7 separate regions of the Homo sapiens genome follow, and all the other regions are linked to region 1. The links are contacts of gene promoters, found by promoter capture Hi-C in human tissues and cell types (Jung and others, 2019). All regions are on one chromosome and are shown on one strand. Each heading gives the region's core, a stretch centred on a gene start or on the middle of the fragment in contact. The rest is flanking DNA. Distances are from core to core; before and after follow the strand shown. Region 1 holds the start of ID4 (inhibitor of DNA binding 4). Region 2 overlaps LOC105374958 (a long non-coding RNA gene). Region 3 overlaps LOC105374958 (a long non-coding RNA gene). Region 4 overlaps LOC101928519 (a long non-coding RNA gene). Region 5 overlaps LOC101928519 (a long non-coding RNA gene). Region 6 has its middle 400 kb from the start of TRQ-CTG1-1. Region 7 has its middle 440 kb from the start of TRQ-CTG1-1.

Region 1 (3,143 bases), core at 62-2,561:
TGGTGACCGGCCACCCGAGACGGGAAATGCGCGCTCACCTGGACAGCGCGGCTCAGCGGCACAGAATGCTGTCGCCCTGCTTGTTCACCGCGCCGGCCTGGAACAGCAACCGAACACCAAGGGAAAGGTTAGCAGGCGCAAACAACGCGCTCGACACGGTCCTGGATTGTCCTCGGAAATCAGGCTGGCGCGCCGACGCCCCCACCCCAGCCTGTAGCCGGGGGGGCCCCTCCGGGCTCAGGCGGGACTTGACAGCCCAGGGCGCCCACAGCCCCGAGTCCCGCCCTGCGCGTTCTCCCGGACCCGCGCTCGCCGAGCCCGGCCGGCTGCTGGCGGCCCGGGGGAGCCCGGAGGAGCAGGGGGAGGGGGCTGTCATTCCTGGCCCGCCCCTGCCCGGAGGACGGTGAGCGCCCGCGTCCCGCCACCACGCCACCAACCTCCCATCCCCCGCGGCGTCCGCCCACGGCCGGCGCCCGGCCTCTCACCGGGTCGGTGTTGAGCGCAGTGAGCGGGGTCCGCGGCGGCGCGGCTGGACAGGTCCCGGCCGGGTGGTGTGGCGGCGCGGGCGGTGGTGGCTGCCTCAGCAGGGCCGGGTGCGTCTCCAGCGCCAGCTGCAGGTCCAGGATGTAGTCGATAACGTGCTGCAGGATCTCCACTTTGCTGACTTTCTTGTTGGGCGGGATGGTGGGCACCAGCCTCCGCAGGCGGCTATAGCAGTCGTTCATATCGCACTGCAGGCACAGCGCCGGCTCGTCGGCCGCCGCCTCGGCCGCCTTACAGCGCGCTGCCGCCGCCGCCGCCGCCGCGGCTGCGGAGCCACCCAGGCTGTGGCCGTGCTCGGCCAGGCAGCGCAGCGCCAGCTCCCCGCCGCCGCAGCCCGACGGCGCCTTGCGGCCCGAGGGGCGCACCGGGCTCACCGCCTTCATCGCGCGCGCCCTGCGCTCTACGCGAGCGAACCCGCTGGGGCGAGCGAGGGAGGCAGGCAAGCTCCGGGCCCCGTCCGCGGCCGGCTCCGCTCCCTTTGCCTCCGCGCCCGGCGCGCTCGGGGCACCGCGACACTCCCGAGCCCAACAATTGACGGGAGGGTCGCTCTGGGTTTTACGAGGGAATCTTTGCTCAGTGGGCGACACTCAGCCCGAGCCCAAAGGAAAAAAAAAGCAAAAGCACCGGAAGAAAAGTAGCCCACCCGGGTGTCCTAGTCACTCCCTTCGGAGCTCCGACTAAGCCCGATCGCGGCCGCCGCGCTCCCCTAGCCCGGGATCACCCCACTCCCGGTACTACTCACAACCGCGCCTCCTCCACTACGCTCTCGCCCGGCCCGCCGCGCAGCTGTATTTATAGAGCCGTGCGCCCCGGGGGCGGGACCAGCGCGCGGGCCGGGTCGCAGCGCGAGCCGAGCGGAGCCCGCTGGGCGCGCGGGCGGGGGCGCGGAGGGAGAGGCGAGGGCGGGGGCTCCGGGCGGTGCTGGGGGGCGGGGAGTCCGGCTACCCGAGTGGAGGAGTGGGCGGGGGGTCTGGAGTGGCCAGCCAATCAGGCGGGCAGTGCCACCTCGGGGAATGACGCTCGGGCCAATGGGAAGGGCACTCCATTCCGTCAACGCTGTGGGTCGGGGTTCTGAGAAAAGAGAGCTGAGTGGGAGTCGGGCCAGGCTGATGTGTGCCCAAGGGAGGGGAAAAGAGAGAGCGAAGTTCCTGCGAAGAACTGCGGGAATGTGCGGCCGGAATTCACTCTCCACCGCCCCCCTTATCCCGACTAGGCTGCTGAGGGAGCGCCTGGGCCCTGCTCGCGGATACCCTGCCACTCCTAATAGCACGGCGCCCAGGGACCCTCCGCCACCCATCACTCCATCCGTGGGATTCCAGTGCCTTAAGAAAGACGCGCTGTTCAAGAAGGCACGTTCATTCTGTTCTATATTTCCCTCCTCCGTTTCATTATTCGCCTTTTCACATTTGCCGAAACCATAATGATGGAATGGAATGTGTAGCCTTTCCGTTTTCTTTTTAAAAAATGCTAAAGCTTAGCAAAAGTAGAAAAAAAAAGAAGGAAAAGAATGCCGAATCGAATGCAGGTTTTTGGTGAAGGGAATATAAATAAAACAAAAACGTGGGGGGGGTTCTTTTACCCCATCTAAATGCAAAAGTGGGCTCAAGAAATGCAGTTGCCTTGCGCATTCAATTAGAGCACGTAAAGATTAAAAATGCATGGACACGGAATATTTAAAATTCCATTATGACATATAATATTAATCTGTTTTATGTAAAATTCATACCTGTAACTTAATTTAGGCCATTAATGCACAGCTTCACGTATTAGTCAGCGTACCCCGCTTTAAATAAGGTGATGAGAATGTCCAGAGTCGCCTCCTTTGACAGCAAAGCATTAAAATTCACACTTCCAGTCTCTGGGATCCCGCTTGGGCCCCACCCTGCAAAAAAAAGCCTGTTAATTAAGGGCGTTTTTGTGTTAGATTTCTTAGAGAAAAGCTGTCCTTCAAGGGTTCAAAATAAAATTGCACAATGAGCTTTGGTGGAGCATTGTGTGTACCCTTCAAGAAAAAATTGAGCCCTTCAGATGAGAAAGGTGCATAAAAATTCTCAGACAATGGGGAAATGAATTTTGAGTGCCTTCACTCTACAAACCCTCCCACCTTTAGACACGCTTGGAGATGAATTAACCCAAGAATTTTCTTCATTCGTGTACATGACATGGATTGGTGTCTTCATTTTCATAGATAATTGAAAGAAAGAGACATGGACCTCATTTCTTCCTGTCTACCCCTATATGGACTTTTTCTACATCCATTCCCAGAACTGAAATACCTGCACCAGGCAGATATTTTGTTTAGCTATGTCAGTGCTTTATGACTATCGCACTATTCCCCAGAGCACATTCCTTTCTCCTGATGAAATGAGGAGCAACTATTTAATTCTGGTTTCACAGGTAGATGCAATAACCCTCCTCTCCCCTAATCCTTGTATGTTACTGCTTCTAATAATTGTTTGGAAACAAGTGCCATTCTCATTTATTTATGTGCATACGTAGATGGTCTACATACACATTAATCGAGAAAATCAGAATTATGAAACTCAGAAGGGCTTTCTTCTAAAGACAGGCATAGTCATATACATCATTAAATTAATGCA
Region 2 (3,143 bases), core at 455-2,954, 810 kb after region 1:
AGACAGTCCCATCTGAGGGTGATGGGAGACAGTGACAGATCATCAGGCATTAGATTCTCATAAAGAGCAGGCAACCTAGATCCCTTGAATGTGCAGTTCACAGTAGGGTTCACGCACCTATGAGAATCTAATGCCACTGCTGATCTGACAGGAGGCGGAGCTCAGGTGTTAATTCAATCAATGGGAAGTGGCTGTAAATACAGATGAAGCTCTGCTCACCCACTGCTCACCTCCTGCTATGTCAGTTTCTAACAGCAACCAGTACCAGTACCAGTACCCATCCATGGCCTGGGAGTCGAGGACCCCTGACTTACATATACATATATATACATACATACAAACATACATATGTCACATATATTCTTTTGTACTATTGTATTAAAATTAAGTAAACAAAAATCATTAATCAGGCAGATGTGGAGAGGTAGATTGTACAATATAACCACACAAGGAACTACCTGAAATTACAGCAACCAACTTGCTTTTGTCCTTTTGGAGAGGAGATGCTGCTCTTTTTATGTTAGGACTAGGCTCAAAATCCTAATCCTAACATGAATGTATCTCATGAGTGTAATTTATCTCATGAGGTCTGTCCCAGTAGCTCACTAGAGTAGCAACCATCACATCAATATTGTTGACTTAAGCACCCCTTACCTTTAAGTTATGTTGGCAATAAACACAAAGAACACAAAGCAAATAAAGGATAGCATGGGGATTGTTAAGACATTTCTCTCTCTGTCTCTGTCTCTCTCTTTCTATACACTGTAGTCATACACTGGTAGGGGCATAATACCATATGTAACAACAGGGAGTAGGTGGATGATCTGCTGGATTTGTTTGTTTCTTCAAGAAGACCCTGATTCTCCTTAAAAGCCAAATTTTCACAATCACGTGCCTTTAAACCACAGGTTGGAAAACTGAGACAGCCCAAGTGATTTGGAGTGCCTGGGCCACCTACCAGTTTTAAACAAAATTGTAAAGATTTCCTGTCTTTTTCTTTCTTTCTTCTTATTCTAACCAGGCTTTCCAAGTGCCAGCCTACCTCTATTTCTGTTCTCAGACGACTTTCAAATAATCCCTGCTAGAGTGTTAATTGAAAAGCAAGGTATTAACTGATTATAGCTTAGTATGATCCCTCCTAGGGTGATTTTATTTTCATAGGGGACTCATAAAGGTTGGTGTGAGTAACAGGGAGTGAAGGCTCAGAGATGACCTTCAGGAGGCTATAGCTAACTCCAACACCTGACGGAGCAAATAAAAAATATTTGTTATGCAGCCTCTGAAAGGTTGGCAAAACCTTGCTTCAGGCCCTGTTTAAACACCCAGTCTCTGTCTACTACTTTTGGAACTGAACTGCAATAAAACCTCTTATTTTCCTGACCCAAGAGGAAATATTTTATAAATTATAGCGTAGAGAATTATTTGGCCAATATTTAGACCGGAAATACCCTGAAGAGTGAGAAAGGTAAGGAAAAGAACAGATTTGGAGAAAGCACAAAGGCCAAAGTCAATCAACAAAATGCTTAATAGTGTAAAGAGAAAAAACTTTTCAAGTGTCCAAGCATAAATGTCAAGAGTATTTCAATAAAACCCAAAAGGCTCGAAGTTGAAGCAGGTATGAGAAAAGGGGAATAGAGAAGATCCCCGAGGAGAATACAAGCATGTGGGGTGTGTATCTCCATTTACACAATAATTGTTCCATCACCTTCCTGTTTCACCGTACTTAATATTAGCAACTGCTTCGCCTGATAAGAAATGGTATCAGCCCTTTATAAAAGAGGTATCCCTGAGTCAGGATGTTTAAGCCAGCAAAAACTGGTCACAGCTGAATCCAAATCCAAATGTTCAATAGCTGTTCTTAAACTTTACTGTGCATAACTCACCTAACAATGTTCATGTAACATGAAGATTCCAGAATCACAGCTGAGGTGATTCCAATGCAGCAGTTCTGGGGCATGGCCCAGGAGTTTACAGTTTAGGAGCATGCCAGTTGATTCTAATGTAGGCAGTGGGCCACTGTGAAACAGGTTTCAGAAAGCCTAACCCAGGGTTTGTATTCAGTGCTTGCACCCCTCCTTCCATCTCTCAAACTGCCATTTGCTCCAGCAACATTCCTGGACAAACCAGCTTTGGGGAAGTTGAGACTGAGAGCTCCTCTCCTCATTGGCACCATGCATCTCTCACCTTCTGTTCCGAGTGCGTCACCTCCCATGCGGGCTGCTGCGTGCGACGCCTGCAGGAACCTACTCTGTGCTCACACAGGGGCAAAACTGGAAATGTGAGGAGGGCTAAAACTCCCAGGGGGATTGCTTGACCAATGGAGGCAGGAGCCAGTAGGTAAACATTCCCAAGTTGCCATTCCTCAGGACAATTTTCTGAAACTTATTCTGTATAATTCCCCCAGAGGGTCCTAGCAGGAATGAATTCCAGTTGCCCACAGGGATGGCCAGCTATATAACTCTTCTTCTCTTCCCAGTCCAAAAGTAAACCACTTATCCAAAAGTAAACTACTACATGGGAGCTCTTGCTGCAAACTCTGCCATCTGAGAAGAACACAGGCTCAGGGAAGGTTCACCTGAGAGACTGGCTCTGGAAACCAAGAAGGAGAGGGTGAAGGGGAGGGACAAAGAGCCCTTGGTATATTCTTCTCATGCAGCCTCACTCAGAGTAGCCCCATTTTGTCTGTTTTTTGCATTACACTTCTCCGTTTTAGTTTCCTTAAAAATAAAATTATGGAGATAAAAGGCATTTGAAAATAATCAGTCTAAGAAAAAGGCTCAAATCTTGGCAGCAAGAGCCCAAGATTTACCACTAGTACAACCTGAAATCAAGTACATAATATCCCCAGCATTCGTTTTCTTGTCTACATGACAGGGTTGTTGAGACAGTAACACACGATTATTATTAACTGATAATATAAAACTAATAGGAGTATGCCATGTGGCCCAGACCCAATCTCTCACTCCATGCAGTTGTCGTCAGGCTCGTTTGATTCCGTGATTTTGTTCACACTAATAAGCCACTGGACACAAGTCACACATATCCTAAAGTGGTTAGTTAGAAATCTTACGATGTTTGTGCAAAATTTGGCTTCATCTGTTGATGCTGCATCGATATGAGTTTGCTGTTAATACAAGTTTCAA
Region 3 (3,143 bases), core at 474-2,973, 790 kb after region 1:
GGATTATTAATGCTAACTAATGTACCACTCAGAAGGGGGATGTTGATAATAAGGCAGACTATGCATGTGAAGGGGCAAGGGTCATATGGAAAATCTCTGTACATTTCTCCTAATTTTGCTGTGAGCTTTAAATATTCTAAAAACATAGTCTTTAAATAAATGAAAAATAAAGGAACAAAAGAAAAAGGGAGGGAGGGAGGGAGGGAGGGACTGTGTCCTCTTTTATCATAAAAAGTGTAGGGCAAGTAGATGCTTCTATAGCAGAGAAGGACTTTGGGCTCATGAATTACATGCTCCATTATGGTTGGCTCAGTAAAGATCCTTTGCAAGACGGAAAAATATTTAAACCTTGGTCCTCCTTGTGAAATACCAGACAGAGAAAAAACAAATTCGAAAAGATGTGTATTTTCTTTTTGTGAAACATACAGCAATTTCTAAAATATTTGCAAACATTTAGCTCTCATCTGCAGTATAAGCATACTACTACCCACTTAGGGATTAGAAGCAAAAGTATTCGGCATCTGGAATATATGATAGAAGAGACTTAGTAAATGTGGCTTATTAACCTCTTCTCTTTATTTCTCAGAAATGTAAGTGAACACTACACAGGACTTTCGAGGAGCAGAATTTTGAAGCTATATCTTAATATCTTATTATATTTTTCCCTCAAGCACTGAAGAAGTACAGGATGAAGCCAGTTCTTTGAATCTGAAAAGCAAAATCAGATCCCTGTATTTTTTTAAGTTGGGATGTGTAATCTGGTGCTTCTGGGTTGTTTTTATCTAGGATCATGATGACCTGTTATGAGTGTGCTTTAGCAACCTTGAAAATGGATAACATCAAAATGCAATTTACTGTACAAAAACGGCATGAAACAATGCATCTTTCAAATATGCTTTGAAATGCTGATTATGATGGTGTCACAAAAATTAACAGTAAATTACAAAATAAGTACATGATAGCATAGCAGTGCATTGTTAAATGAAAATGGGTAGGGGAGAGAATGAAAACATAATAGGCATCTTCTTTCTAAATTTCTTATTGCCAAATCTTAAATGAAACAAGAGGCATAATCACAAGTACATTAGGAGCACAGCCCAGAAATTGTTTAGGACAACGTGCTTTTAAAGGTTGAAGGTCATGTCACTTTCTCCATTTTGGCCTGTTACACTCATGAAGACAAAGGTAAGTATGTTTCTAGTTAATAGAGTAGCCACAAAATCAATATAGAGAAATAGTAAATACATAGTGCAAATGTTACTCGAAGGAAATACTATCAAGGAAAAGACACTTTCAGAAAAAGAGAGGACTTTAGAAGCAATTTTGTTCAACTGTATTTTTATTGGTGAGGAAAATGAAGTTCTGAGATGTAAAGGACATAGGGTGTTTTGTGTGTGTGTGTGTGTGTGTGTTTTCAGTGTAGAATTGAACCCAGGCCCTGTAAGATGTTAGTGTTTCTCTTACCTTTTACATCCTATTGGATCTAAGAGCGTGAATTGAAAGGATTTAAGTATAGCTACAATTTCCTTTCTATAATAGGGCTCGTAGAAAGTCAGGTGGACTTTACAAAATAAGTGAAAGGCAATTTTCAGCAATGAAAAGGTTTTGATTCTAAACTGTCTCTATTTAATAATCTGTAATTCTGCTCACATCAAAAAGAATGTCAGAAGAGAATTAGAGATGGGTTTTTCACATGGGGCTTAAGTGGATGTGGTTTGATAGAAAACAATCATTTTATTTTCTAATTAAGTTTATACAATTTGGCAACCATATCCATTTCCCAAAAAGAATTTCCTGTGGATTCTACAAACTGGAAGTCAGAAATAATACTGCTCAAAAGTCTCTCCTTCCTTTCCAAACTCCAGTTTAAATTTGTCTTCTTGACACGAAAATCCAAGCAAAGCTTTGCCCAAGCCTGAAAAAGCTTTATATGAGGTTCCAGGGAAAAACAAGGCAAAATAATACAAATAGCACCTCTGACAGCAGAGACCAGAGCTCTGCTCTCTGTGATTTTCCTGGCTGTTCAGTAAAGGTCTTGATGCCTGGTGATAAATAGACTGCATGTGTACAGTAGAAGATAAAAATGATCTCCGTTGGCCCTTTCCCAGCTACAGATGCCATTGCTTTGACCTTAAGCATCGTATTCCAGCCCCAGTTTGCTGAAATGCTCCAAGGCAAAATACTCTGTATCATTCTGCCTCAGTGTGGCGAGAGGCTCCTGGGCCTGGGAATGTGCTCATATTTGGTGATGTCTTCCTGCGTCACTAAAGCAATCAGATGGATCCAGATTGAAAAGACAATAAGGGCTGAACAAAAGCCGAGAGGGCAAACAGATGGGTAATGATCCCCTCTTCTATCATTCGTGTCTATAGAGAATTATTCAGCAAAATTGAACTCTCTGATGAACAGAGCCCAAGATAGCTTTATGCAATGAAAATAATGGGATTCTTCCTTTCTATTTGCTTCTGTGCTCTGAGAGAAATGGTAAAATGATATTCTTATTCATGGTAGTAGAAAAAAAAAAAGGATCTACTGATGTTTGTCACAGTCAGTAGTGTGATACGAGAGAGTGAGAACTTTTTCAGTCAGGCTCCCTTTATCATGAATCAGGATGTATGTGGGAGATCTGTCGACACCTCTGTCAGTTCCCAGAGCCCCCGATCTGGGATAGATAGCGCCTGGGGAAAGAAACGGAACATCTGCTCTTCTAAGTTGACTCTGGAAATCAAGAGAGCCAAGTGGATAATAACTTCTCATTCAGTAAGTTTTGAAATAATTCAGTAAACTATGATTTGAAAACCTGTAGCGATGGACTTGGGAAAAGGAAGTCCCCCATATCTAAGGATGTGGAGGCTAGAAAGTGGGGAGGTGTTTGCTAAAATGAGAAGTTCATTGGTTACTTTCATATTTTATGTGCCCCCTTCATCCCAACTGCATGCCTCTGAAAGGGTGTTACAGGCACTGTGGGTACCAGTGGCAGTACCTCTGGTGAGGCATAAATCTAGTACTGCTTACCACTGCAGAGGTATCCCTAACCAAATGCTACTGCAGTCTTGCTGGGTGTAGGTTTTGTGGTCCTGTTTTCCCCTGAAACATAGCAGAAAACATCTTTTAAGCTTAGGTTCTGAGTTATCACGGTCTGT
Region 4 (3,143 bases), core at 335-2,834, 690 kb after region 1:
TTTCATTAAAACACACCATTAGGAGAGTGGTAAGGCAAGCTACAGAGAGGGAGAAGACATTAGCAATGAATACACACACACAGACACACACACACACACACACACACACATATACACACACACATACAAAAGACTTATATTGGGGATACATAACAAACTCCTACCTATCAGTAACAAAAGGATATGTCAGTAGAAAAATAAGGTAAGGATTTCAACAAGCACTTCTCTAAGAAGCACATCCAAATGGCCAATAAGAATATGAAAAATATCTACCTTCATTAGTTGTCAAGGAAATTCTGACTAAAATATAAAACTCCTACGATACAACCAAATTGGCTACAATAACAAAGACTGACAATATCAACAGATTGTAAGCGTGTAGGGAAACTAGAAGCCTCACCCACTTCTAATGGGTGTGAAAATTGGTACAGCTGTTTGAAAAAGTTTGGCAGTCTCCATTAATATATATAGTATGCATAGTTTATTACCTAAATGTTTGTGCTCAACAGAAATGCATATGCATGTGTTCCCAAAATACTATTTGTAAGAGCACAAATATTAATAGATATTTAATATATTGTTGATACCTGCAATAAGATACTACACAGCAATGAGAACTGCTATCACATGAATGACATGAATAATTGCTGCACACACTACTGAGTGAAAGAAACCAGACATAGAAGAGTACACACTATATAATTCGATATATGTAAATTTCGAATACTGGCTAAACTAAACCATGTTGTTAGAAGTCATGACAGTGATTACTTTTTGGGGAATTGTGACTGGGCAGGGCATGGGGCTTCTTGGGTGCTAATGTTCCATTTCTTAGTCTGATAGTTAAAGGGGTGTGTTTGCTTTGTTCAAATACATCAAACTGAGCACTTAAGATTTTTACACTTTTCTACATGCATATTATATTTCATTAACAGCTTTCTCAAAAACAATCCAGATCACCTATTCCTTCTGCTTCTACTAATCATGTGAAGTCACTTAATGCAATTACGATTGCTCTCTAAAATTGCTCTGTAGTATCAGTGCAGTATGTAGAACCTGGTCTAAAATAATCAGGAAATTCCAACTTTAAAGATTTCATGTTGTCTTTTAAAAATCAACACACATACAATCAAGTTGTCAAGGACCCAGCTTGTCCACTGGAGATAGGAGATTCAGGCCAAGAAGAGAATTTTAATATAGTCATGCATTATCTATAACTTGTAGGTTGAATAAAGATAAGAATTAGAGTGGACTTAACTGAAAATAGCCTTGCGATAAAAACAAGTCACTTTATTTCAATGACACTCACTTCCACTGTGATTTTTATCTTGTGCTTATTTAGTTCCTAGGCCCAAACCAAGCCTTCTTGGTGTTTTTTTTTTTTCCTTTTCTTTTCATTCTTTTTTTTTTTTTTTTTTTTTTTTTTTGATTCTTCAGCTCTGCAAAGTCAATGTAACCTATGGAAATGGAATTGCCCTTTTGCACAATGTCACTGAAGACATAGTAGAGAAGGAAAGCAAGTGTGAAGCCAAAGTATTTGTGAAGTCTGAATTACCTGTTTTGAACTTGAATTTCAAAAACATTGTTTCAAGTGAATGTGATGTTATTTTGATTTACTATATTAGAAACAGCCCTTTCTTAGTTCAGTCTTGCAAGCTACTCACATAAATTAAAGCAGGATCTCATGAGGGCTGATGAGAGAGAGAGAGAGAAGACAGGTAGCTTCGTACAGGCAAGCTGAAGTATATGTTTTAAGTAAGACTTTGAGGGGACATTATTCAGTTTAATTATTAGGAATTCATGTTCACAAAAGGCAAAGCTACAAGTGTGTGGCTGGTTTATCAGAATAGGAAAGCAAAGGATTATATGGATTGAGAAAGCCAGAGAATTCAAAGATAAATAGAAAGTTATGGTTCAGGTCACATGTTATATATAGACTAGAAGCTGAAACCCAAAGAAGTTCAATTACTTGTCCAAGTTCATATAACTAGTTGGGGGTGAAACCAGGGCTATAAAAGAGATCTCTTATTTGTGATCCAATTCTTACACCACAATACTGTGCTTCCTTTTGAAGATTAGATTTTTATATCTGTAGCTTAATACACTTTAATCATATATCTTAAAATTTCCTTCTAAGTGATTGTTAGGTAAATACGTTTATTTTCAAAAGTAGCAGTATTGCCTCAGGAGGTCACCAGGAGCTTTTATTGCAGTTTTCATTGTCAGTTCTTCTGGGCTCCAGCTGAAAGCAACAGTCTCCAGACTCCTTTGCAACCCAAATTCAGAATGTGTTAAAATCCCTGGAGATCGCCTTGCCATGGGGCCCTAAAGAATTCATGTAGTCACTAACAAGAGTCCAGAAATAAATTTAGTGGCTAAAATATGGTACCTTGAGTCCCCACATAATGTGAGGCTGTGGGTTCTCTGCTAAAAATGGGGTCTCCAATGTTTGGCTCTGGAAGCTTTAGCGTGAGGAAGACCAGGGCTTGGAGGACATCTGAAGCCCTCTTGACTTTAAAAAAAATTTTTTTCCCTCTTGAATTTTAAATAGAGCTGAGCTGTGAGAATCCTTTTAAAGTTTTTGACAATTTCCTAAAATATAGTATGCACATTGCCATTGCCAGGTGATATGAGTAGAGCTCATTTCACCCAAGTCTTACATTGAAAACCAGAAAGCTAAAAGAAAACATAACTCTTTTTTTCAATTAAAAATACCAATTTGACAGATATTTTACTCACAATAGCCTGGTAACAACCTACCCAAATGGCATGTAGTCATGCATTTTCTTTCTCTCCAAGGACTAGCTATGTCTCATGATTTTCACATATATTATACAGAAGAAGAGGAAATGCTCAAAGATGATGCTTAGCTCAAGTGAGTACTCTTAATGAATGAGTGGAAGGGGAGGACCATTAAGACAACTGAAACAAGAAGAGAAGCAGGTCAGTGTGGGAGAGGGGTCCATAGACACAGCTGGTACATCATGCATCTATCCATCCAGTTAATATTTATAAAATAAACTCCATTTTCTTTCAAGAAACTCACTGTGTTACAGCAGAAATAGGTCAAAAAGGAAACAAAGAAACAGATAATTATTTACAGGTACATATCCTGGTGGATTTTTCCAGCAGACAGGTTGAAA
Region 5 (3,143 bases), core at 341-2,840, 670 kb after region 1:
AGAGTACAAAACCAGTGTCTAAAAGTCTGCTGGCAGAGAAGAAGAGAAAGAAATACTGGGTTTCTTCGCTCCTTACCCCTCACCTCCCACAAGCTTCTGCCTGTGTCTACCATTGACCAAACACAGCCAAAGTGTGGCTGATAGAAAGGAAAATCCTTGGTACCTGCTCTTCCTCTGATAACACAGAAGAACAGAGAGTAAAGAGCAATGCCTCCGAAACAAGTACACCCAGGATCATCAAATGCAATGAATGCACCAAGGCAGATCATCATATGTGCTTTATATTCACCATTGATTTCTCTTATTCAGAGCAAATGAATGATGGCCTCTCTCCATGTAGCTTCTTCGAGAGTACCTACAAGTTCAGAATAATTCCAAAGCCTTCGAGTCATGTCTTTGAGTAAAACTAATGTTTGGTTTTAATAAATTGCTACCTAAGTTTCCAAAACACATGTTGGAAGTTTGACTTTTAGAATTGTGTTCTTGCTAGAAAAAAATTTAAAAAAAAACTAAAATAGTTGGGAAAATGCATCTAGAATTCACACCTAGAAGATCCTCTCCAAAAATATCCAAGAGATGAACATAGGAAGGAGATTGTGTACCTTGAGAATCTGAGTGGCAAATACTTTAAACTAAATGTCAAACTGACAGAACAGGTTGATAAACCCTGGGAATTCATTCCCCAGTCAACAAGCAAGAATTACACAAATAAATTCCCACACTTCCTACACTTCTCTAAAAATCTATAACCTTTCTTAGGAGTTAGTTCAAAATAATGTAAATAACCTCAAATATAAATAATTTGAGACACGCTGCTTTTTGAAAGGTGATAGAAATGAAACTAAAGTAGCAGAAATAAAAAGAGTTGGGCACAGGGAGAATCTCAGGGCAGTAATGAAAATGGCATATTTTCAACCCAGTAGTGCTAAACCTTATTAAAGAAATGTCTGGAAACATGTAAAATGCTTTAATCGTCCATAAAAATAATGAGAGTTCCAACAACTTTAGCCGAATGGATGTCACCAGAACTCTCTAAGGCTGGTGTCTAACGTGTATTTTGTCTGTGAAAAGCTATTATTATTTTTTTTTTTCAGAATGAATTACAGTCTAATAGAAAGAGCCAGAATTATGTAGCCCAAACAACCTAATATGAGGCTGACTTAGGTATCTACTAAATGTATGGCCTTGGAACAAAGCATTTTATCACAAGAACCCTCAGTGATTTCTTGAGTGAAAAGGAGATATTACTTCTCTTATGGTTTGTGATAGGAATTAGCAATAATGTTGTTAATGTTGGTTGTGATTATTATCTTATTTGAGCATTTGTGCATAACACAAATTGACAAGGTAGCTTCCTTTAATATTATCACTTTTCTCTTCTCATCAAGAAAGAGATTATAACTTCTTGGAGACTCCTTAAAAATGCAAACATCCTTGAGAGGAGTTACTTCTTTAAATAGTATCTGTGAATATGGTGGTTATTTTTAATACCCTTGCAAAGCTCAGTTGACAGTCACCAAAGAGCAAAATTGGGGCAGGTAGTTGGGTGGAAGGAGGACTTACAGAAAGCTTTAATTCACATTGAACATGAAATTGAGTACCTTGTTTTTGGATCCAGCTGACGATCAAGAGAAGCTCACTGTTTTACATATTAGCCTCTAACTCTGTTCTTCCTTTAGACCTAATTGAAATGCTTGTCAAAAATGCCGGCAACTAGACACCATGCCTAGGATGTTAGAGCCCAGGAATCTGTATATTTATTAGGCAAGACAATTGACTCTGATTTATGTAGCCTGAAACCTCACTTTGAAAAATCACTGCTTTACAGAAAATATGAGAAGTTGCCAGGGAGGAGGGATTGAGAGTGGTGAGTGGTCATCCCACACAGACTGCAGCTCCTTAAAAGTTTTCCTAAGCTTCTTGATTCTGCCTTATTTTGTTGCCAAACAAACAAGAATAGGCTGAGAGTAACCCAGAGGGTTTTATGGCTTGATGCCATAGCTTTGAGTTCAGGAAATCCTTTAAATGCCAGACCCTGTTGTTGAGGAGAGGGGAGTGGTATCTATGATTACGTATTTAGAATTGCATTTTGGCATGATTAAAAAAAATAGTCGTTGCAAAGTATAGTGAATTTATCAATGCAGGTAGAGGGCCAAGAACCCACATTACCAGGGAATGGACAGTCCTCATTCTGGCAGAGATGGAGGGTGGGCAGAGTAGTATGACCCTGACTCACATTTCAGAATAGTAATTGTGCTTCTCCTTTGCCACTTGACCTTGACCTTTTCTTGCCATGTTTTATTTTCTGTCTTCTGTCCACTATGTTTTCTACTCACCACATCTACCACCCTTTCTTCTTACTCATCAATGATTTGAGGTGGCCTGTGGCTAAAAAGGGCACTCGCCTACCCTATATATCCCAGCCCAAATGTTAAAGAAGTGACTTACTCCCAGGTTCTATAACGATTCTATAATGAGTAATAATGACAAAAATCATCATTGCTTTATTAATACTCCTGCCACTACTAGGAATATAAAAAGTAAATGCAAAGGTATGCAAGAAAAATGAAAATTAATTTTTAAAAATATTCTTATGGTTATCTATGTTATTTCCATTAAAAATACTTTAAAAACATATAGTTTCATTGTTACAACAGTATTTTTCAGGGCCAAGATGATGAACCATCAGTAAATTCATTCCAGATTCAAAAGGAGAACCCACTAGTAGTTTGCTCCTCCTCCTGTAACATCTTACTGTGACAGAAATAAACTCAAATTGCCAAATCGCAGAGTAAATATGCAAGCTTCCTTTGCTGGTAGAAGTCTGTGAAATGTGTTCCTCGGGCTCTTTGGATTTCTGAACATGAAATTGAGTACCTTGTTCTTGGATCCAGCTGACGATCAAGAGAAGCTCACTGTTTTACATCCTTTAGACCTAGGTGATTTATGAAGCTGATAGCAGAACTTTAGAATGAGGAAAGGGCCAAGGCTGAAGTCTTTATTTAATCTGATTTCATGGAAAGTCCCCTTTTTCTTTTGGATCATAGGTGCTGTGAAGTATAAAACTTGAGCTGTATGTCAGTTTCAGTTGAGGCAGTTTAATAATTTTACATACCATGATCAGTTTCACAACTGATTCTCTT
Region 6 (3,143 bases), core at 243-2,742, 610 kb after region 1:
GTATTTGCTCTTATAAATTATATTTTTCCTTTGTGTTAAATTGCCACATTACTCCAAAAAGATTATAAGAATGTATATCAGCTATTGAAATATTTAAAGAAAGACATATGTGTGTGTATCTCTTTATATAATCATATATATCTCCACATTCTTGTCTGCTTAATGTCAACTCTACTAGAATTGCCATGAAAAATCATGTAAACTTATGTGTTCACTATCATTTTATGTACCTTTAGTTTTATATATGGCTACTGTAATTTTTCTTTGAAAACATACATCTTATGGTGAGACACATGACTATATTAAGGGATAAATTCTTTGATGTTATTTTACAATAATCATTGATAGCTGGGTCAGGAGTAGGAAAAATTTCCCTTTAACTTAATAGAAGATCTAGCATTTCCATTTCTTTAAAGCAGCAACAAAGGAGTTTGTACACCCTATTCTGATAAGCTTATGGCAATACAGACAAGAAACATGGGGAAGCAGAGACCCAGACTTGCAATGTGGGTTGACAATGAATACAGGCCCCTCTCCACTACTGATTAATTTTCAGATGATCTTATCACCAGCCAGAGCAGGAAGAAAGGCTAAGGGTGCCTTATAGGGAAGAAAAATCAGGCTTTAAGTTCTGGGCACCCGGATGTTTGACTCTTTCAGGTACTTTGCTCATTCGGGTGATACCATTTTGTGAGGAATTTTGTTTAGTTTTTCTATCAGTATTTCCCCTCACACTTCAGTAAAATGTAAAATAAACTTAACTGACTGCCAAAAGCAAGCTTATAAGTAAACAGAGCTAGAGAGAGCAGAGGCAGAGTGCTGAGCGGGAAGCCATGGAGAGGAATGAGAGTCTAGCCTCACAAAAGCTTTAATAGGAGCCTCTTTGAAATGACTAACAATAACAGACTAAAACATTCAGGAGGAAAAAATAAAGTTTAAAAGATTATAAAGCAAAGAGGCTAGCAGCAAATATATGACACAAAATGTTCTGAAGCTGCTTTGCCACGCACGCTCTCTCTCTCAAAGCTATTTTGGCTTGGTTTCAGGTTCCAGGACATGGCTCAAAGGGACCCTCTGTCTTTTGGAAATTTTGTGCCAAGAACCCTGGGTCCAGAATGCCTCTGGGAGCTGGCTTGGTTCTGGGGAGTTGGCATAGACTCTGGAGAGTAGAATGTGGCAAATAAATTGTTGTATATTCTGACTATATAAATATTATACACCAAAAAAGTTGAAGAAAAATATTGAAAAGAAGGTGGATACATTTATAAGTTGCATTATCTATGATCACTTAGGGTCAAAGCTTGTCAATAAATGTTCATAACTCACACAATGGAAGTACATTCTTATTTAACAGTATGAAGTAAAAGAAAGAAAATGTTGACAGAATAACATTGAAGAAAGAAGGGTACAGGAAGAAAATACAGGAAAGTTTTTACTATTCACATTAAGGAACCAATAGATACCATATAAAGAAATGAATGTCTAAAGATACAGCAGATGAAATAGAGACCAGCAAACCACAGCTTATGCCAAATCTCATTCAATGCCTGTTTTCATATGACCTACAAAATATGGTTTTCGCATTTTTTAATTGTTGAAAAAAATCAGAGGATAATAGTTCAACACGTGAAAATTGTATAAAATTTAGGATGCAGAATCTACAATAAAGTTTTTCTGGAATGCAGTCATACTCGCTCATCTGCAAATGATCTACAGCTACTTTCATGTTATAATGGCACAGTTGTGACAGAGACCCTATGGCCTGTATTTTCTAATTCTAGTAATTAGAAAAATGATGGATTTGGTATATAAAAACAAAAGATGTTTCTTTGAAAAAAATAGTAAAATATTATCTAACTTAATCAAGAAAAAGAAAAAAACTGCAATTAAAAACAAACAAGCAATGAAACACACAACCAGATAGTAAAAAGGAAATGACCACATAGGAATAGAAGAAATTAAAGATTCATAAGAATTCTAAATTGAAAAGCTTGGATGAAAAAAATATGATTTACACAAAATGACAACACAAATGACAGAAAATCTAAACAGAACTACTTCAATAAAGGCAATAGACAAAATTATGCAAAGGTTATTCCCAGCAAAGTGGCAGATTTGGACAGTTTCATAAAGGAATTCAAATATTTTAAAAGCAAATAATACCAATGCTATTTAAATTGTTCTGGAAAAGACTAGACAAAAGAAAATCTCAATTCATTTTGGAAAGGGGGTATAAAATTGGTAATGAAACCTGATAAAGATGTGCACACAAAAAAAACTATATAGATTAATCTGTTATCAATAATAACAAAAACATTCTAAAATTTTTAGCAAATGAAATTCAAAAGTATGTAAAAAGAATCATTATTTTGAAAGAAGATTTTAGAAGTACAACCATCAGGAAAATGCAAATCAATATCATGTTACATCTATTAGGATGCCTATTATCAAAGAAACCAAAAGATAACAAGTGTTAGCGACTATGTGGAGAAAAAGGAGTCTTTGCACAGTGTTGGTGGGAATGTAAATTGGTACAGCCATTAAGAAAAACAGGATGCAGCATTCTCAAATGAAAAGTATAACTACCATATGATCCAGCAATTCCACTTCTGGGTATTTACTCAAAGAAAATAAAATTAGAATCTTTAAGAAATATCTGCATTCACATGCTCGTTGATCGCATCATTATGCACAACAGTCAAGATGTGGAAACAACCTAAATGTACACGAACAGATAAATGGATAAAGAAAATGTGGTATACACAGACAATGTGGTATTATTCAGCCTTTAAGAAGAAGGAAATCCTGCCATCTGCAACAACATGAATGAACCTGGAGGGCATTATGCTAGGTGAAATAAGCCAGACACAGAAGGACAAATACTACATGATCCTATTTATATGAGAAATCTACAATAGTCAAACTCATAGAAGCAGACAGTAAAATGATGGTTGCCAGGGTCTGAGGGGAAGGGGAAACAAGGAGATACTTTTCAAAAGGTACAAAGTTCTAGCTATGCAAGATGAATAATTTCTACTGATCTACTGTGCAGCATCATGTCCATAATTAACAGTATGGTATTGTATACTGAAAATTTTGCCAAAAGGGTAGATCTTATGTTAAGTGTTCTTATCACAAATATA
Region 7 (3,143 bases), core at 187-2,686, 560 kb after region 1:
TAGAGAGAAGTTTTGTCCTGTGGGAAGGCTTAAAGCTGGAGCTTGTACTAGGACCTGCTTTACGGTTTTGAAGGCTGTTTCTGACCCTGGTTCCCATTCTACTAGATGAGTATTTGCCCTCTGGGTCTCCTTGATTAGAGTATAGAGGGGCCTGGCTATCTCGCTGTATCCAGGGATCCATAGTCGGCAAAAGCCAGTGATTCCAAGGAACCCCTGCAACTGTTTTAATGTCTTCGGGCGAGGGTAAGCCAGTATAGGCTGTATTCATTTCTTGCTGAGGGCCCTAGTCCCTCCGGCTAAGATTAGGCTTAGATATTTGACCTGCTGTAGGCAAAGCTGGGCCTTCGACCTAGACACCTTGTACCCTTGATTAGCTAGAAAGCTCAAGAGATCTAGAGTAGCCTGCTGGCACAAGGCTACCAAACTGGTAGCCAAAAGTAAATCATCCACATACTGAAGGACCAGAGTGCCTGGACTTGAGAAGTGGCCTAGATCTTGGGCTAGTACCTGACCAAACAGGTGAGGGCTAGCCCTAAACCCTTGGGGCAAGACCATCCACATAAGTTGGGACATGTGGTCTGTGGGCTCCTCAAAGGCAAAGAGGAACTGGGAGTCAGAGTGCAGGGGAATACAGAAGAAGGCATCCTTGAGGTCCAGAACAGTGAACCATTCTGCTTCCTCTGGTATTTGAGAGAGCAGGGTATAGGGGTTGGGTACAACTGGATATAGAGGAATTATTGCCTCATTGATGAGTCTAAGATCTTGCACTAGTCTTCACTGACCATTCGGTTTTTGTACTCCTAGAATTGGGGTGTTGCAGGGACTGCTGCATTTCTTTACTAAGCCTTGAGCTTTTAAATGTTTAACAATATCCTGTAATCCTTTATGAGCTTCAGGCCTTAAGGGATATTGCCTTTGATAAGGAAAAGTGGTGGGATCTTTTAGCCTGATTTGGGCTGGGCAGGCATTTTTTTTGCCCTTCCAAATTGTCCCTCCAATGCCCAGATTTCACGGTTGATTCACCCCTCAAGTAGGGGACAACAAATGAGTAACTTGTTCCCCATATTCATGTAGATAATAGCTCCAGCTTTGGCTAATATATCCCTCCCTAATAAGGGTGTGGGACTTTCAGGCATGACAAGAAAGGCATGTGAAAAGAGCAAAGTCTCCCAATTACAACTGAGGAGGTGGGAGAAATACCTGGTTACAGGCTCTCCCAGGATTCCTTGGATGGTAACGGACCTTGAGGACAGTCGTCCAGGAAAGGAGATTAACACTGAGAAGGCCATGCCAGTGTCCAGGAGGAAGTCAATTTCCTGGCCCTCAATGGTTAAATGTACCCGGGGCTCACTGAGGGTGATGACGTGAGCTGGCACTAACCCTGGGCACCCTCAGTCCTGTTGTTGGATCATGTGGTTGGGGGCTTCTACCCAGAGAACCTTTGTCCTCTGGGGCAGCGCACCTTTCAGTGATTGCCTTGGCATAGCAGACATGGATGAGGGGGTGGCTTGTTTCTCGTTGGACAATCTTTTTTAAAGTGTCCTTGCAAACCACACTGGTAACAAGCCCTACTGGGTGATTGGCCTGTTCCATTTTCTGTCCTCTCTGAACCTCCAGGGTTTGTTTGTCTGAGGGCCATGACTAAGGCTGTGGCCTTTCTCTGGTCTCCCTTTTCCTATTGGGCCTATTCCTTTTGGTCCCTACTATAGAACACCGAGGTTGCCAGGTTTAATAATGTTTCCAAATTTTGTTCAGGGCCTAGGGCTTGCTTTTGGAGCTCTCTCCTGATATCTGCAGCTGATTGAGTAATAAACTTATCTTTTAGAATCAATTGACCCTTGAGTGATTTGGATGACAGGGGAGTATATTTTCTTAAGGCCTCCCATAGCTGCTCGAGGAAGGCAGAAGGATTTTCTTCCTTTCCCTGAGTTATGGTGGACATCATTGAATAATTCATGGGCTTTTTCCTAATTCTTCTTAGTCCTTCTAGAACACAGGTCAACAGATGTTTACAACTCCAGTCCCCATGATCTGAGTCAAGATCACAGTGGGGATCCATATTGGGGATGGCTTGCTGACTGGTAGGGAATTTGTCCCTTTCTTTGGCTGTCATTCTATCATTTAGTTGACTAAGATACCAGGTATCTCCAAACTCTTGGGCTGCAGCTAAAGCTGCATTCTTTTCATTAAAGGCCAAGGTTTGATGTAACAATAGCATGACATCTCTCCAAGTAAGATTAAAGGTTTGCCCTAGACCCTGTAGGACATCTATGTACCTATCAGGATCATCTGAAAACTTCCCCAGGTCTGCCTTGATCTGCTTTAAATCAGAGAGGGAGAATGGGACATGTACCCATGTTGGGCCAAATTCCCCTGCCCCTACAGCTTGAAGGGGACATAACCGATAGCCTGGGGGATTTTGTGGTCCTTTGGAGATTTCTTTGCTTATTTCCTTCTGGGCAGGGGAGATTAGAGGAGGATTATCATTAATAGGAAGGGGAGCTATAGGGAGGCTAGGATATGGGGGTAAGCTGAGAGGTCCTCCTGTGAGATGTAAAATGTAGTTGTGTATTCTCCTTCAATGAAAAGAAAGCTTGGACATAAGGTATTTCATTCCATTTGCCTTCCCTCTTACAAAAAAAGTCAAGCTGCAGGATAGTATTGTAATGTACACTTCCCTCAGGTGGCCATTTTTCCCCATCAGAGAGAGAATATTGGGGCCAAGCCATAGTGCAGAAAAAAATGAGCTGCCTTTTTTTCAGGGTTTGTGGGTCAAATTGGTCCCAATGATTTAGGATGCATTTCAAGGGTGAGCCTGTTGATGCCAGAGTGTTTCCCATCTGAAAGACAAAACCACCCATGGCTTTGGTTTGTTTTGTTTCTCCCCCTGCCCAAGAACCCACAAGGGTCCCTGGACCCTGCTCGTCGGAATAGTTACACTCACTGATGCAGCAGCAGAAACACTAGTTTTCCTCCCAGAACACAAGAAGGAACGAGGAAGGTCAGATTTAGTGGCCCTTACTGATGCATTCTCAAAAACCTGCACCCTTGCCTGTCGTCCTAGACCACAAAGAGGACCAAGAAAAATCAGATTTAGTGGCCCTTACCAACACATTCTCGAAAACCTGTTAGAGTCCTAAGCA

What was found. The method cuts DNA at HindIII sites, captures the fragments that hold promoters and counts their contacts. A contact is called where the count stands out against the background at its distance.
Region 2: a fragment that was not itself captured here is called in contact with the fragment with the promoter of ID4 in region 1 in 2 of the 25 tissues and cell types used here (H1 embryonic stem cells and mesendoderm cells).
Region 3: a fragment that was not itself captured here is called in contact with the fragment with the promoter of ID4 in region 1 in 4 of the 25 tissues and cell types used here (dorsolateral prefrontal cortex, hippocampus, mesendoderm cells and 1 more).
Region 4: a fragment that was not itself captured here is called in contact with the fragment with the promoter of ID4 in region 1 in 1 of the 25 tissues and cell types used here (heart right ventricle).
Region 5: a contact is called between a fragment that was not itself captured here and the fragment with the promoter of ID4 in region 1, in 1 of the 25 tissues and cell types used here (mesenchymal stem cells).
Region 6: a contact is called between a fragment that was not itself captured here and the fragment with the promoter of ID4 in region 1, in 3 of the 25 tissues and cell types used here (H1 embryonic stem cells, hippocampus and mesenchymal stem cells).
Region 7: a fragment that was not itself captured here is called in contact with the fragment with the promoter of ID4 in region 1 in 3 of the 25 tissues and cell types used here (aorta, heart right ventricle and thymus).

What each region holds. Positions count from the first base shown.
Region 1 is chr6:19,835,538-19,838,680 of GRCh38, reverse strand. It overlaps ID4 (inhibitor of DNA binding 4), which reads right to left and starts at 1,311. Exons shown (of 3, transcript NM_001546.4): 1 at 486-1,311; 2 at 39-97. The coding sequence starts at 926. The coding sequence ends at 53. The HindIII fragment of the contact is 7,095 bases long and covers 1-3,143 here.
Region 2 is chr6:19,020,957-19,024,099 of GRCh38, reverse strand. The region is part of intron 2 of LOC105374958 (a long non-coding RNA gene); the gene reads right to left. Among named protein-coding and RNA genes, the nearest start is that of TRQ-CTG1-1, 190 kb to the right of the region's middle. The HindIII fragment of the contact is 7,195 bases long and covers 1-3,143 here.
Region 3 is chr6:19,041,609-19,044,751 of GRCh38, reverse strand. All of the region lies in intron 3 of LOC105374958 (a long non-coding RNA gene), which reads right to left. Among named protein-coding and RNA genes, the nearest start is that of TRQ-CTG1-1, 210 kb to the right of the region's middle. The HindIII fragment of the contact is 4,276 bases long and covers 1-3,143 here.
Region 4 is chr6:19,145,343-19,148,485 of GRCh38, reverse strand. LOC101928519 (a long non-coding RNA gene) reads left to right here. Exons shown (of 11, transcript NR_110860.1): 5 at 2,800-2,875. Among named protein-coding and RNA genes, the nearest start is that of TRQ-CTG1-1, 310 kb to the right of the region's middle. The HindIII fragment of the contact is 7,624 bases long and covers 1-3,143 here.
Region 5 is chr6:19,166,292-19,169,434 of GRCh38, reverse strand. All of the region lies in intron 3 of LOC101928519 (a long non-coding RNA gene), which reads left to right. Among named protein-coding and RNA genes, the nearest start is that of TRQ-CTG1-1, 330 kb to the right of the region's middle. The HindIII fragment of the contact is 3,647 bases long and covers 1-3,143 here.
Region 6 is chr6:19,229,989-19,233,131 of GRCh38, reverse strand. No RefSeq gene overlaps it. Among named protein-coding and RNA genes, the nearest start is that of TRQ-CTG1-1, 400 kb to the right of the region's middle. The HindIII fragment of the contact is 3,750 bases long and covers 1-3,143 here.
Region 7 is chr6:19,272,656-19,275,798 of GRCh38, reverse strand. No RefSeq gene overlaps it. Among named protein-coding and RNA genes, the nearest start is that of TRQ-CTG1-1, 440 kb to the right of the region's middle. The HindIII fragment of the contact is 7,231 bases long and covers 1-3,143 here.